Regions from separate parts of the Homo sapiens genome. Here region 1 is linked to region 2. The links are contacts of gene promoters, found by promoter capture Hi-C in blood cells and fetal thymus (Javierre and others, 2016). All regions are on one chromosome and are shown on one strand. The core of a region is centred on a gene start or on the middle of the fragment in contact, and the rest is flanking DNA. Distances in the headings are between cores, read along the strand shown. Region 1 overlaps DHRS4L2 (dehydrogenase/reductase 4 like 2). Region 2 holds the start of IRF9 (interferon regulatory factor 9).

Region 1 (6,594 bases), core at 2,808-5,307, 150 kb before region 2:
TGCAGAGGTCTCGGAGAAGCCCTGAGTCCTCTCTCCACCTGGGGGATTGCCTCCACCTCTGAGCATCCATGGAGACCAGGGACCATAACCAAAACCATGCTTTGTTAGTCCCCTTGAATAATGACACATGTTTACAAAACTCAGGTTGATGATCTACAATCCAAATGAAAAGAATGAAGAGTTTTACTAAGCCCCAAACTCCCCTTGCCTAAGGAGTTACTTTCTTCCCCAGTGAGCTGGGTGAACTGTTCAAGCACCTTTGTCGGGCTCCCTTTCCTCTAAGTTCCCTGCCTCTCTCTACCTTCTGGCTTCAAGGACAAATGCCAGTAATGCCTAACTCTGTACTCGTCCAGACATCCCAAATCTTCCCAAAGCCATTCTGATGTGAGACATGAGCTGCAGGCCTGGTTCATAACTCATTAATAAGTGAGGGGATTGTCAACCTAGAGCACCAATGAATGATCTAGCCCATGTAGCTCAATACTGGATTCACATTAGAATCACCTGGGGAGCTTTTTAAACTGCAGGTGCTCAGGCCCCACCCACTCCCAGAGATTCTTTTTAATTGGTCCAAGGTAGGACTTGACCATCTGGGCTTTTGTTTTTCTTTGTCTTTTCTTTTCTTTTCTTTTTTGGTTTAAGCCTCTCAAATGATTGCAAGATACAAGTAGAATGGAGAAGCATTAATTCAGCCCTTCTAGGTTTGAGTTACTCACTCTGCCCACCTCTAGAGCATTCTATGGCAGGGAGATTAAAGTGTCTCCTAACTATGCAGTCACTGATAAAATAAGAATTAGCACATTCTCACTAAATGAACATGACTTTAAGGCACAAGTATAGATTCCTGAAAAAGTTCTAAGCTGAACCTGTACAAATGGAATCATTTTAAACACACCATTTACTGTCACACAGACTCCCTGATACTTTAGTGTGTGCACATGTGAAACCATTTTTTTGAAGTATGAAATAATTAATTGCTCACCATTTTATCTATATAACTTTGGATTTTGGTGTCCTGAGCTCTCTAAAAACCGGTGTGTTTCTATAGTATTTGAATATTATGGGTAATAGTTTTGCAGAGTACAGTATGCTTATACTAAATTATAACAGCATATCCTCGTGGTAACCCTATTTGATAGGCAGAAAGCTTGTACACTGATCCTGAAAAGTCATCTGATAATTCTTGATTAAGCAAATTTAACTCCCCGTGTCCCAGGTGAGGGAGGCAGACCCGTTTGATTTTTACCTCCTTCCTTGCTTCCCTTATTCCCCAGGTTAGGCGAGCCAGAGGATTGTGCTGGCATCGTGTCTTTCCTGTGCTCTGAAGATGCCAGCTACATCACTGGGGAAACAGTGGTGGTGGGTGGAGGAACCCCGTCCCGCCTCTGAGGACCGGGAGACAGCCCACAGGCCAGAGTTGGGCTCTAGCTCCTGGTGCTGTTCCTGCATTCACCCACTGGCCTTTCCCACCTCTGCTCACCTTACTGTTCACCTCATCAAATCAGTTCTGCCCTGTGAAAAGATCCAGCCTTCCCTGCCGTCAAGGTGGCGTCTTACTCGGGATTCCTGCTGTTGTTGTGGCCTTGGGTAAAGGCCTCCCCTGAGAACACAGGACAGGCCTGCTGACAAGGCTGAGTCTACCTTGGCAAAGACCAAGATATTTTTTCCTGGGCCACTGGGGAATCTGAGGGGTGATGGGAGAGAAGGAACCTGGAGTGGAAGGAGCAGAGTTGCAAATTAACAACTTGCAAATGAGGTGCAAATAAAATGCAGATGATTGCGCGGCTTTGAATCCAATTGACCTGTTCATTTCTCAGTGTTGGGTGCTTAGCTGAGCAGAGAGCAGAAGTCTATTCAGGCTGGATCTCTGGATCCCCCAGCCCTCCTCCCTGTCTCCAGAACTTGAGCGTGATGTTCACGGGTGGAGGTGTCTGCAGAGCTGCCAGCTGGAAGGAAGGTGGCACGGGAACTCCCAGGACGCCACGGGAATCCCCGAGGCAGCGCGAGCCCGGAGAGAGTGGGGAAGGATGAACTCTCTAACACCTCCCCGCCCCTTGCCTCCCAGATCAGGCCAGGTCCTCTCCCCGCATGGCCCTACGTCCCGAGTTCCCTCCCGAGTCAGCAAGTACAAGCTGGATGGGTCCTGAGCCGGTGGGGAATAGAGAAAGGCCCTGCAAGGTACCCAGGCCCACAAACAAAAGAAATGGGTTCTGCCCACGGGCCCGAGGATTCAGTAGAAGGAAAGTGGGGACGCTGTCCCCCGCCCCAAAGGCACTGACACTGGGCGACACACGCTGAGCCTCTCACACCGACGGGCCTCTCACGCCGGAGCCGGCAAGAAAGGTCGGCGCCAGCCCGCGGGCTCTCAGGAGGCTCGGCAGCGCGACGCGCATGCTCAGTCGGGCAGCTCTCCGGGCCGGCGTGGGAGCCCGCGCTCCAAAGCCCGGTGGGGGGAGGGGCGCTCACGCAACCGCCACTGTCTGGAGCGGGCTCGCCTCTGCGGCGGCACTCACCGCCCGGGCTTTACTGAAGCGGAGTCTAGCATGTGCGGCTGCTCCACAGCGGTGTGGGTGGCGGCGGCTCCTCTGCAGCAGCCTCGGCAGTAGGGGTCACGGTGGCCAAGCCCACCGTGGAGCTCATCTGAGAGTTGTAAGGTACGGGACTGCCTCGGTCTTTGGGACGCCCCGTCTGGTAGCATCCCAGATCCAGCACGTTCCTTCCGGCCCTGCACCCCGGCCCGGTGCCTCACACCCCGCTACCCCATGCATCCAGACTCTAAGGCAGCCCCTGCATCTCAGTCCTGACATCGCTGTCCCTGGAGCATCCTCCGCTGGAGCTGGAGCTTGACAGGTAGGGTGGAGAGGGCCGTGGGGGGGGTGCGGAAACTGCATCAATTAACGGGGCCGTGGGGGAGGGAAGTCCTCCATTGCTAAGGCTTCAGTAGGCGTTCTATGATCACAGTGTAAACAAAGCTGCAGGGAAGCTCTAACTGGGCGGAACCCACCGCAGCTCAGCAAGGCCTACTGCCTCTCCAGATTCCACCTCAGGGGCCAGGGCATATCTGAGCAAAAGGCAGCAGACAGCTTCTGCAGACTTCAGTGTCCTTGCCTGACATCTCTAAAGACAGCAGTGGTTCTCCCAGCACGGAGTTCGTGCTCCGATAACGGACAGACTGCCTCCCCAAGTGGGTCCCTGACCCCCATGTAGCTTGACTGAAAAACACCGCCCAGTAGGGGCAGAGAGACACCTCATACAGGTGGGTGCCCCTGTGGAACAAAGCTTCCAGAAGAAGGATCAGGCAGCAATATTTGCTGTTCTGCAGCCTCCTCTACTGATACCCAAGAAAATAAGGTCTGGAATGGACTTCCAGCAAACCCCCAAAGACCTGCAGCTGAGGGGCCTGTTAGAAGGAAAACTAACAAACAGAAAGGAATAGCATCAACATCAGCAAAGGACAGCATCAACATCAGAACAGGAAAGGACATCCACACTAAAACCCCATCCATAGGTCACCAACATCAAAGACCAAAGGTAGATAAAACCACAAAGATGGAGAGAAACCAGAGCAAAAAGGCTGAAACTTCCAGAAATCAGAACGTCTCTTCTCTTCCAAAGGAATACAAGTCCTCACCAGCAAGGGAACAAAACTGGATGGAGAATAAGTTTGATGACTTGACAGACGTAAGCTTCAGAAGGTCAGTAATAACAAACTACACCCAGCTAAAGGAGCATGTTCTAACCCATTGCAAGGAAGCTAAAAACCTTGACAAAATGTTAAACGAATGGCTAACTAGAATGAAGAATCTAGAGAAGAGCTTAAATGACCTGATGGAGCTGATAACCACAGTACAAGAACTTCATGAAGGATACACAAGCTTCAATAGCTGATTCAATCAAGTGGAAGAAAGGATATCAGTGATTGAATATAAAATTAATGAAATAAAGTGAGAACACAAGATTAGAGACAAGAAAAGAAAAAAGAAACATTCAAATTCAGGAAATACAGAGAACATCACAAAGACACTCCTTGAGAAGAGCAACCCCAAGACACATAATTGTCAGATTCAGCAAGGTTAAGGGCAGCCAGAGAGAAAGGTTGGGTTACCAACAAAGGGAAGCCCATCAGACTAACAGCAGATCTCTCAGCAGAAACCATACAAACCAGAAGAGAGTCGGGACCAATATTCAACATTCTGAAAGAAAAGATTTTTGGAACTAGAATTTCATATCCAGCCAAACTAAGCTTCGTAAGTGAAGGAGAAATAAAATCCTTTACAGACAAGCAGATGCTGAGAGAGTTTGTCACCACCAGGCCTGCCTTACAATAAGAGCTCCTGAAGGAAGCACTAAACATGGAAAGGAACAACCAGTACCAGCCACTGCAAAAACATACGAAATTGTAAAGACCATTGATGCTATGAAGAAACTGCATCAATTAATGGGCAAAATAACCAGCTAACGTCATGACAGGATCAAATTCACATATAACAATACTAACCTTCAATGTAAATGGGATAAATGCCCCAATTAAAAGACACTGACTGGCAAATTGGATAAAGAATCAAGACCCATATGGTGTGCTGTATTCAGGAGACCCAATCTCACGTGCAAAGACACACATAGGCTCAAAATGAAGGTGTGTCTGGAATTGGTGGGTTCTTGGTCTCACTGACTTCAAGAATGAAGCCACGGACCCTCGCAGTGAGTGTTACAGTCCTTAAAGGCAGCGTGTCCGGAGTTTGTTCCTTCTGATGTTCAGACACGTTCAGAGTTTTTTCCTTCTGGTGGGTTCGTGGTCTCGCTGGCTTCAGGAGTGAAGCTGCGGACCTTCACAGTGAGTGTTACAGCTCTTAAGGCGGCATGTCTGGAGTTGTTCGTTCCTCCCATCCGGAGTTGTTCATTCCTCCCACTGGGTTCGTGGCCTCACTGGCCTCAGGAGTGAAGCTGCAGACCTTCACGATGAGTGTTACAGCTCATAAAGGCCGTGTGGACCCAAAGAGTGAGGGGCAGCAAGATTTATTGCAAAGAGCGAAAGAACAAAGCTTCCACAGTGTGGAAGGGGACCCAAGCAGGTTGCTACTGTTTGAAGGGGTGGCTTGCCCCTCCACACCTGTGGGTATTTCTAGTCAGGTGGGACGAGAGACTGAGAAAGAGAAATAAGACACAGAGACAAAGTATAGAGAAACAACAGTGAGCCCAGGGGACCGGCGCTCAGCATACCAAGGACTTGCACCGGCACCGGTCTCTGAGTTCCCTCAGTTTTTATTGATTATTATCGTCATTATTTCAGTAAAAAGGAATGTAGTAGGAGGGCAGGGTGATAATAAGGAGAAGGTCAGCAACAAACGTGAGCAATAGAATCTAATAATTCAGTTCAAGGGAAGGTACTATGACTGGACATGCACGTAAGCCAGATTTATGTTTCTCTCCACCCAAACATCTCGGTGGAGTAAAGAATAACGAGGCAGCATTGCTGCAAACATGTCTCGCCTCCCACCATAGGGCGGTTTTTCTCTCATCTCAGAACTGAACAAATGTACAATCGGGATTTATACCGAGACTTTTAGTTCCCAGGAGCAGGCAGGAGACAGTGGCCTTCCTCTATCTCAACTGCAAGAGGCCTTCCTTTTTTACTAACCCACCGCAGCACAGACCCTTTATGGGTGTCGGGCTGGGGGACAGTCAGGTCTTTCTCATCCCAGGAGGCCATATTTCAGACTATCACATGGGGAGAAACCTTGGACAATACCCTGCTTTCAAGGGCAGAGGTCCCTGCGGCTTTCTGCAGTGCACTGTGCCCCTGGTTTATTGAGACTAGAGAATGGCGATGACTTTTACCAAGTATACTGCTTGTAAACATTTTGTTAACAAGGCACGTCCTACACAGTCCTAGATCCCTTAAACCTTGATTTCATACAACACATGTTCTTGTGAGCTCCAGGTTGGGTCAAAGTGGTTGGGTCAAAGTGGCTGGGGCAAAGCTAAAAATTAACAACATCTCAGAAAAGCAATTATTTAAAGTACAGGTCTTTTTCAAAATGTAGTCTCTTATGTCTTCCCTTTCTACATAGACACGGTAACAGTCTGATCTCTCTTTCTTTTCCCTACATATCCCCCTTTTCTTTTTGACAAAACTGTCATTGTCACCATGGCCTGTTTTTGCTGGTCACTGTCTTTCTGGAACTGCTGGATACACCTGTAGACTAACAATAGAGAGGGCAGACATACAAGGATTAATACAAAATTTGCAATAGTGGAATTTCCAATGGTTTTAACCCAAGTGATGGGGGCAAGAGGACAGTGTGGGTGCTCCGGCACCCAGGCAGTCTCCCTTCTCCTTTGTCTCTTAGTTGTTGTTTCTCATAGTTTTCAATCTTTCTCCTCACCTGCTCACTCGCACTTTTTGTTTCATTGTCTCCCTTCTCTTATGGTCTCTCTCTCTTTTTCTCTTTTTCTTCCTTTTACACTATTTCTTTTCCCAGTCTCACTTTCTGTGTCTCTCTCTGATCTCTGTCTTTCTCTTTTACATTATTTTTTTCCCCAGTCTCACCTTCTGTGTCTTTCTCTGATCTCTGTCTTTTCCAGTCTCTCTCT
Region 2 (6,821 bases), core at 1-2,500:
GGCATGCCCAGGCAGTAAAATGGGTCCTTGGGAGCAGTAGGTCTTGCAGTGGGTGGGAGGGAGGAGGCTTTCTGGGCAAGGGCATGGGTAGATAGTAGCAGGCAGTGTGGGCACAGGTGGGTTGTTAATCTTGTTCGTCCAGGTGTCTCAGAGTCCAGCTATGTTAGACACACTCAGTTAATATTAGCCAACACAACAAATATTCTGCTCCCTTTTCTCCCCAGGGCACACTACAAAGAGTATCTTGTGAGCCTCATCAATGCCCACTCGCTGGACCCAGCCACCTTGTATGAGGTGGAAGAGCTGGAGACGGCCACTGAGCGCTACCTGCACGTACGCCCCCAGCCTTTGGCTGGAGAGGATCCCCCTGCTTACCAGGCCCGCTTGTTACAGGTATAGCCTCCACCCAGCCTCATCTCTTAACCCACCCTACAGAAGTCACCTGGTGCTGACTGTGTCTGAGCTCCAGGCTTCCAATATCATTACCTTCTCTCTCCTTCTGCAGAAGCTGACAGAAGAGGTACCCTTGGGACAGAGTATCCCCCGCAGGCGGAAGTAGCTGAGGGCAAGGGTCCCGATGAGGGTCCCATGGCCTGCTCCCTCAGGAACAGCTCCAGCACCAATAAAGAGGCATCTTACCACCCAGGCTTCTTGGTGGTCCTTCTTCCTGGTGCCACCATCTAGGGGCACCAGGGAAAGAGCGGGGTGAACAGAGCTTTGCTGAAAAGGGCCCCCTGCAACCTAGTGCCTGACCCTCCCTGGACTCAGGACCAGGAAGGAGTTGACACCCTGGATGGTCAAGGGAGGCCCTCCCCATCCAGCAGCCTGGCCTGGGCTTCCTCCCTCCCTGCCTCCTTTTTTCCTTTCATAGAATTTGACTGGTATTTGAAGTCACCCAATATGTATCAGGTGGGCACTGTGGGGGAATGCAGATGCACAGGTGTACACAGCAGTCCAGAGGTCCCAGGCCTGACTCCAGGAAACTGGCCTCCCTGGGGAAGCCACGGTGTCACCCAGAGGTCAGATAGAAGCAAGAGTATCTGAGGGAGGCAGGGGAATGAGCCAGGCTGGAGCTGAGCCAGCAGGGCAGGGCCCCCCTGCTGCGACAGTGGCATCCTGATAGTGAGATGCTCAGATGCTGCTGCCCTCTAGTGGCCGCCAGTTCCCTGCAACTCAGACCACGTGATTTCTGGGAAAAGGCCCTCCCTGGAGGAGAACTGAAACTTAGGGTGGGGACTGTAGAAAGGGGCGGAGAGATCAGCCGCCCAGCCAGGAGTTAAGCTGAGGTCGTCTGAGCCCTGCGACAGCCTGGACAGCAACTCAGGTAAGATCAGCCAAGGATGGGAGTCAGCCTGGGATCTAGGGCTAGAAAGTCCAGCCAGATTGAGGGCAGGGGGTCCTAGGGGTCGCTCTGTTAGACTGAGGGATAGACAGAAGATCTCTTAAGTCAGGAAGTGGGAGATTCAGCCTGAGAGTGAGACTGACAAGGGCCAGCTCCCCAGACCCTTGTAGGCAAAGGTCAGGAGGACCTACTGCTGGATTGTTCAAGGAAGAAGGCTCCTGGCCCCAGCCTCAGTGGACCATTTGTTTCCTTGCCATCTGGCCCTGCCCACTTCTGCTGCAGCTCCAACCCCACCCCTACTTCCTGCCCCACCTACTCCTGGGGCCGGCAGGGGGTGGGGGTCAGGCTAGGTTGTGTAGGCTGTGGGGCGGTGGGTGAAGAGCCTGATGGATCTCAGCAGAACCTACCTCTGCTGATGCTCGGGAATCTAGACAGGGCCTGTCACCAGGAACGATCACCAAAGGAATTCTTTTGTAAACAATACATCTCTGAAAAGTCCTAAAATTAAGACCAGTGCCCAAGGTTTCCTTCCAGGTATCACAGCTTAGAGTGCTAAAAACAATGTTTTGGGGGGTTTTGTTGTTGTTGTTGTTGTTTGTCACTGCTAGTGATGGCAGAAAGGAAACAATTCTGTCCCATAGAGTGTTGAAATGTGTTTGGAGCTAAAAGAAGATGGATGGGATCTCTGGGACCTGTTGCCAGAATCTAGTCTCAATGGCCAGGGTCTCAGGAGATGTTCCCTCCCAAAGTGTCAGTTCTGATGCATCCTGCTCCTATTATCCCCCAGGATGGCATCAGGCAGGGCACGCTGCACCCGAAAACTCCGGAACTGGGTGGTGGAGCAAGTGGAGAGTGGGCAGTTTCCCGGAGTGTGCTGGGATGATACAGCTAAGACCATGTTCCGGATTCCCTGGAAACATGCAGGCAAGCAGGACTTCCGGGAGGACCAGGATGCTGCCTTCTTCAAGGTGAAAGGGCCTGGAAACCACTGTTCCTCTGTGTGTGGGATGGTGTATACACACTGGTACACTCATCCTCGAGCACTTGCGTCTGCCTGGGTTTCAGATAAGGGACAGATTGGAGAGGAAAACTAGCTGCATCATTTGCAGAGTCCAGTACAAAATGAAAATGTGGAGGCCTTGTTCAAAAATTTTAGGGATATTGGCCAGGCACGGTGGCTCACGCCTGTAATCCCAGCACTTCGGGAGGCCAAGGTGGGTGGATCACGAGGTCAAGAGATCAAGACCAGCCTGGCCAACATGGTGAAACCCTGTCTCTACTAAAAATACAAAACTTAGCTGGGCCTAGCGGTGCATGCCTGTAGTCCCAGCTACTCGGGAGACTGAGGCAGGAGAATCGCTTGAACCAGGGAGGTGGAGTTGTAGTGAGTCGAGATCGCACCACTGCACTCCAGCCTGGTGACAGAGTGAGACTCTGTCTCAAAAAAAAAAAAAAAAAATTTCCAAGGATTTCAAGATGGCAACGCAGAGCACAGACCCTGCATAATCCCTTCTGAGCTCAGAGCTGCACGCCTGTAAAGCCAGTCCTATTGGAGGGGCAGGTGGAGCCTGTAACACACTGCCTCTTCTTCCCTTGCTTTCTTTCCTAGGCCTGGGCAATATTTAAGGGAAAGTATAAGGAGGGGGACACAGGAGGTCCAGCTGTCTGGAAGACTCGCCTGCGCTGTGCACTCAACAAGAGTTCTGAATTTAAGGAGGTTCCTGAGAGGGGCCGCATGGATGTTGCTGAGCCCTACAAGGTGTATCAGTTGCTGCCACCAGGAATCGTCTCTGGTGAGTTTCCCCTTGTCCAACCACTGCTAGACTCAGCAGACTGGGGAGGAAGGATAGATGTGCAGGCTTCCCCCAGGCTTATAGCTCTGCCCTGTCCATGCCCTTGGGGGGCTGCAACCCAGGTTTCCCTTCCTAGACCTGCCCATCCTTCACTGCCTCAGACCTCTCCTTCACCCTCTGTCCTTGCTCAAGACCCTGACCTTTCTCTGTCCCTCAACAATTCCACAGGCCAGCCAGGGACTCAGAAAGTACCATCAAAGCGACAGCACAGTTCTGTGTCCTCTGAGAGGAAGGAGGAAGAGGATGCCATGCAGAACTGCACACTCAGTCCCTCTGTGCTCCAGGACTCCCTCAATAATGTAAGAGATGGAGAGGGAACTGGGTGGGCCTAAGGGCAGGACAGTAACCAGAGGGAGAGGTGGGCCAATGAAAGACACTGTGTCTTGGGAGGCCGAGGCTGGCAGATCACGTGAGGTCAGAAGTTCGAAACCAGCCTCGACCAACATGGTGAGAACCCGTCTCTACTAAAAATACAAAAATTAGCTGTGCGTTGTGGCATCTGCCTGTAATCCCAGCTACTCAGGAGGCCGAGGCAGGAGAATCGCTTGAACCGGGGGGCGGAGATAGCAGTGAGCCGAGATCGCGCCACTGCACTCCAGCCTGGGCAACAAGAGTGAAACTCTGTCTCAAAAAAAGAGAAAAAAAATAAAAAGACACTGTGTCCGCAGGAGGAGGAGGGGGCCAGTGGGGGAGCAGTCCATTCAGACATTGGGAGCAGCAGCAGCAGCAGCAGCCCTGAGCCACAGGAAGGTACCACCTGCCCTGCCTCTTGTGTCGTCCCCCATGCCACACCCTCTGGCCCAAGACTCCCCAGTCCCACTCTGAATGACCAGTGCCTTTGCTTCCCTTCCAGTTACAGACACAACTGAGGCCCCCTTTCAAGGGGATCAGAGGTCCCTGGAGTTTCTGCTTCCTCCAGAGCCAGGTACGTGGCATTTCTGACTTTCTCCTGTGCCCTGTGCCCCTGAGGTCTTCCACCTTTGACTATGCATGCATTATCTAGTCAGTCAGGGCTTACAGCAAACTGTACCCACATTACCATAGCCCTAGGCAGTGGTTTCTAGGTGGCGAGAATTCCATATGCCTGGCCAGACTCCAAAAAGCTTGCTTCCCAAAAATACCACCCTATACACTCTCCTGGAAATCTACATTGAGACATTGATTTCATTGGGCCAAACAGAGGCCCAATCTCAAGGGACCTTCTAGTAAACTACAAGCCCCTGGGCATTGAGCCCTGAGGCCTCATGGTGAATCACATACTAGCTACTTGCCTCAGTGATAGGAAAACCTGAGAGGAAGCCCCCTGGCTGGTGTGGGGAGGGGAGGTGGAGTTGTTCCCCTGGGGAGGGGCTGCTGCCAGCCTGCATGCTCCTCCAGCACCAGGTAGGGCTGTTCTATCCCCAGACTACTCACTGCTGCTCACCTTCATCTACAACGGGCGCGTGGTGGGCGAGGCCCAGGTGCAAAGCCTGGATTGCCGCCTTGTGGCTGAGCCCTCAGGCTCTGAGAGCAGCATGGAGCAGGTGCTGTTCCCCAAGCCTGGCCCACTGGAGCCCACGCAGCGCCTGCTGAGCCAGCTTGAGAGGGGCATCCTAGTGGCCAGCAACCCCCGAGGCCTCTTCGTGCAGCGCCTTTGCCCCATCCCCATCTCCTGGAATGCACCCCAGGCTCCACCTGGGCCAGGCCCGCATCTGCTGCCCAGCAACGAGTGCGTGGAGCTCTTCAGAACCGCCTACTTCTGCAGAGGTGAGGCTGTTCTCTCTGGGCACATGAGCTTCCACCCCCTACCTCTTAGTACCCCCTGGGCCCAACTTGTTGGGTCCTGCTACCTCCCTATCTGCCAGCAGATCCTCCATGTAGCCTATGCATGGCACTCCTGCGCTTGTGTGTTGCATATCCTGTGTGGCCATATGCCCAGCCTGGCAGCTACCTGGCAGCTCTCCTCCAGCCAAGACAATGGAAGAGGTGGTTCAGGTAGAGCCCAGCACAAGAGTGTCATATCTTGGAGAACACCATCACACTGAAGCATGCAGTCACTATGTGAAGGTGCACAGAAGAATTGGCACAGAGATTTTGAGCCTCATGGCCTTCTCCTACGTACACACATTTGGGAGAGCTGGCACACATCACACACACTGGCCCTGGCTGCACCGTCTTTACCACACTCCAGGCATGCCTTAGGGTTGCGCTTCTCTCCCATCCAATTCCAGCTCCTACTCAATTCTAAACCTGACCTTAAGAGTGGGACCAGGTGTACAGGGGGTGCAGAGTGTGGGTGTTCCCAGGGCCATGGGTGCCCTAGCACTGGGAGGATGTGAGCAAGTAGCAAAGGTCTGGGCACATCTGAGTTAGCAGCCAGGGCTGCTACCTGGGAGGACTCTAAACTCTCCCAGCAGAGAGCTTGTCGGGCTGTGCTGTGATCTGCTACTTCTAAGCACTTATATGAGGCAGGGGCACCCTTTCCTATTTGCACATGGGTGAGTAGCACTTAGTTCCAAGTACTTCTGACCTTGCAGCTCCTGCTCTGGCAAGACCCCCTCCTACCTCTCTCCATCATGGGTTCCTCACTATTGCCTCCCTGCCTGTGGCCCTCTCTCTTCTTTTTGTTCTTCGAACCCTTGACCCTTTCTCTTTCAGACTTGGTCAGGTACTTTCAGGGCCTGGGCCCCCCACCGAAGTTCCAGGTAACACTGAATTTCTGGGAAGAGAGCCATGGCTCCAGCCATACTCCACAGAATCTTATCACAGTGAAGGTGAGCTCGGAGCAGGGGTAGAGTACCCATCTAATGAGAGCAGAGACAGTGGTGCTCCAGGAGGCAAAGGGGGTCTCCCAGTGGGGAAGGAGCTCCTGGGGGTGGTGTCTGTCCCTGATGCACGCACTGAGATGCTCTTCTCCATCTCTTCCAATACAGATGGAGCAGGCCTTTGCCCGATACTTGCTGGAGCAGACTCCAGAGCAGCAGGCAGCCATTCTGTCCCTGGTGTAGAGCCTGGGGGACCCATCTTCCACCTCACCTCTTTGTTCTTCCTGTCTCCTTTGAAGTAGACTCATTCTTCACACGATTGACCTGTCCTCTTTGTGATAATTCTCAGTAGTTGTCCGTGATAATCGTGTCCTGAAAATCCTCGCACACACTGGCTGGTGGAGAACTCAAGGCTAATTTTTTATCCTTTTTTTTTTTTAATTTTGAGATATACGCCCTCTTTCATCTGTAAGGGACTAGGAAATTCCAAATGGTGTGAACCCAGGGGGCCTTTCCCTCTTCCCTGACCTCCCAACTCTAAAGCCAAGCACTTTATATTTTCCTCTTAGATATTCACTAAGGACTTAAAATAAAATTTTATTGAAAGAGGAATCAGTATCTGATTTTCTGGGAGAAGAAGGTAGCAGTGGTCACAGATAGAGATGTAAACTTAAGAGTGGGGCACTGGGGTTCTCTTCCTGCTGACATCTCCAGCCTCTTTCCTCTCCTCTGCCCACAGGTTCTGGCTAAGATGCTGCCTGGGCCCTGTGGGTCCTGGGCCTGGCACTCTACAGAGGTACCCTCTGGGCAGATAAGATTAGGGTGTGGGTTGGGCACCAAGCCTTCAGCCAGGCACTATAGCCACCAACTTCACATGGTAAA

Evidence for each region. Contacts are between HindIII fragments. The CHiCAGO score rates a contact against its expected background, and 5 or more counts as called.
Region 1: a contact is called between a fragment that was not itself captured here and the fragment with the promoter of IRF9 in region 2, in 1 of 17 cell types (activated CD4 T cells). The highest score is 5.3, in activated CD4 T cells.

What each region holds. Positions count from the first base shown.
Region 1 is chr14:24,004,612-24,011,205 of GRCh38, forward strand. DHRS4L2 (dehydrogenase/reductase 4 like 2) reads left to right here. Exons shown (of 8, transcript NM_198083.4): 8 at 1,275-1,792. It also overlaps the pseudogene DHRS4L1. Among named protein-coding and RNA genes, the nearest start is that of DHRS4L2, 19 kb to the left of the region's middle. The HindIII fragment of the contact is 368 bases long and covers 3,874-4,241 here.
Region 2 is chr14:24,160,015-24,166,835 of GRCh38, forward strand. It overlaps IRF9 (interferon regulatory factor 9), which reads left to right and starts at 1,251. Exons shown (of 9, transcript NM_006084.5): 1 at 1,251-1,324; 2 at 2,130-2,310; 3 at 2,952-3,135; 4 at 3,364-3,494; 5 at 3,864-3,945; 6 at 4,049-4,120; 7 at 4,600-4,941; 8 at 5,833-5,948; 9 at 6,108-6,551. The coding sequence starts at 2,131. The coding sequence ends at 6,182. It overlaps RNF31 (ring finger protein 31), which reads left to right. Exons shown (of 21, transcript NM_017999.5): 20 at 225-393; 21 at 506-641. The coding sequence ends at 559. RefSeq lists enhancers at 978-1,367, 2,357-2,416. The HindIII fragment of the contact is 4,395 bases long and covers 1-4,296 here.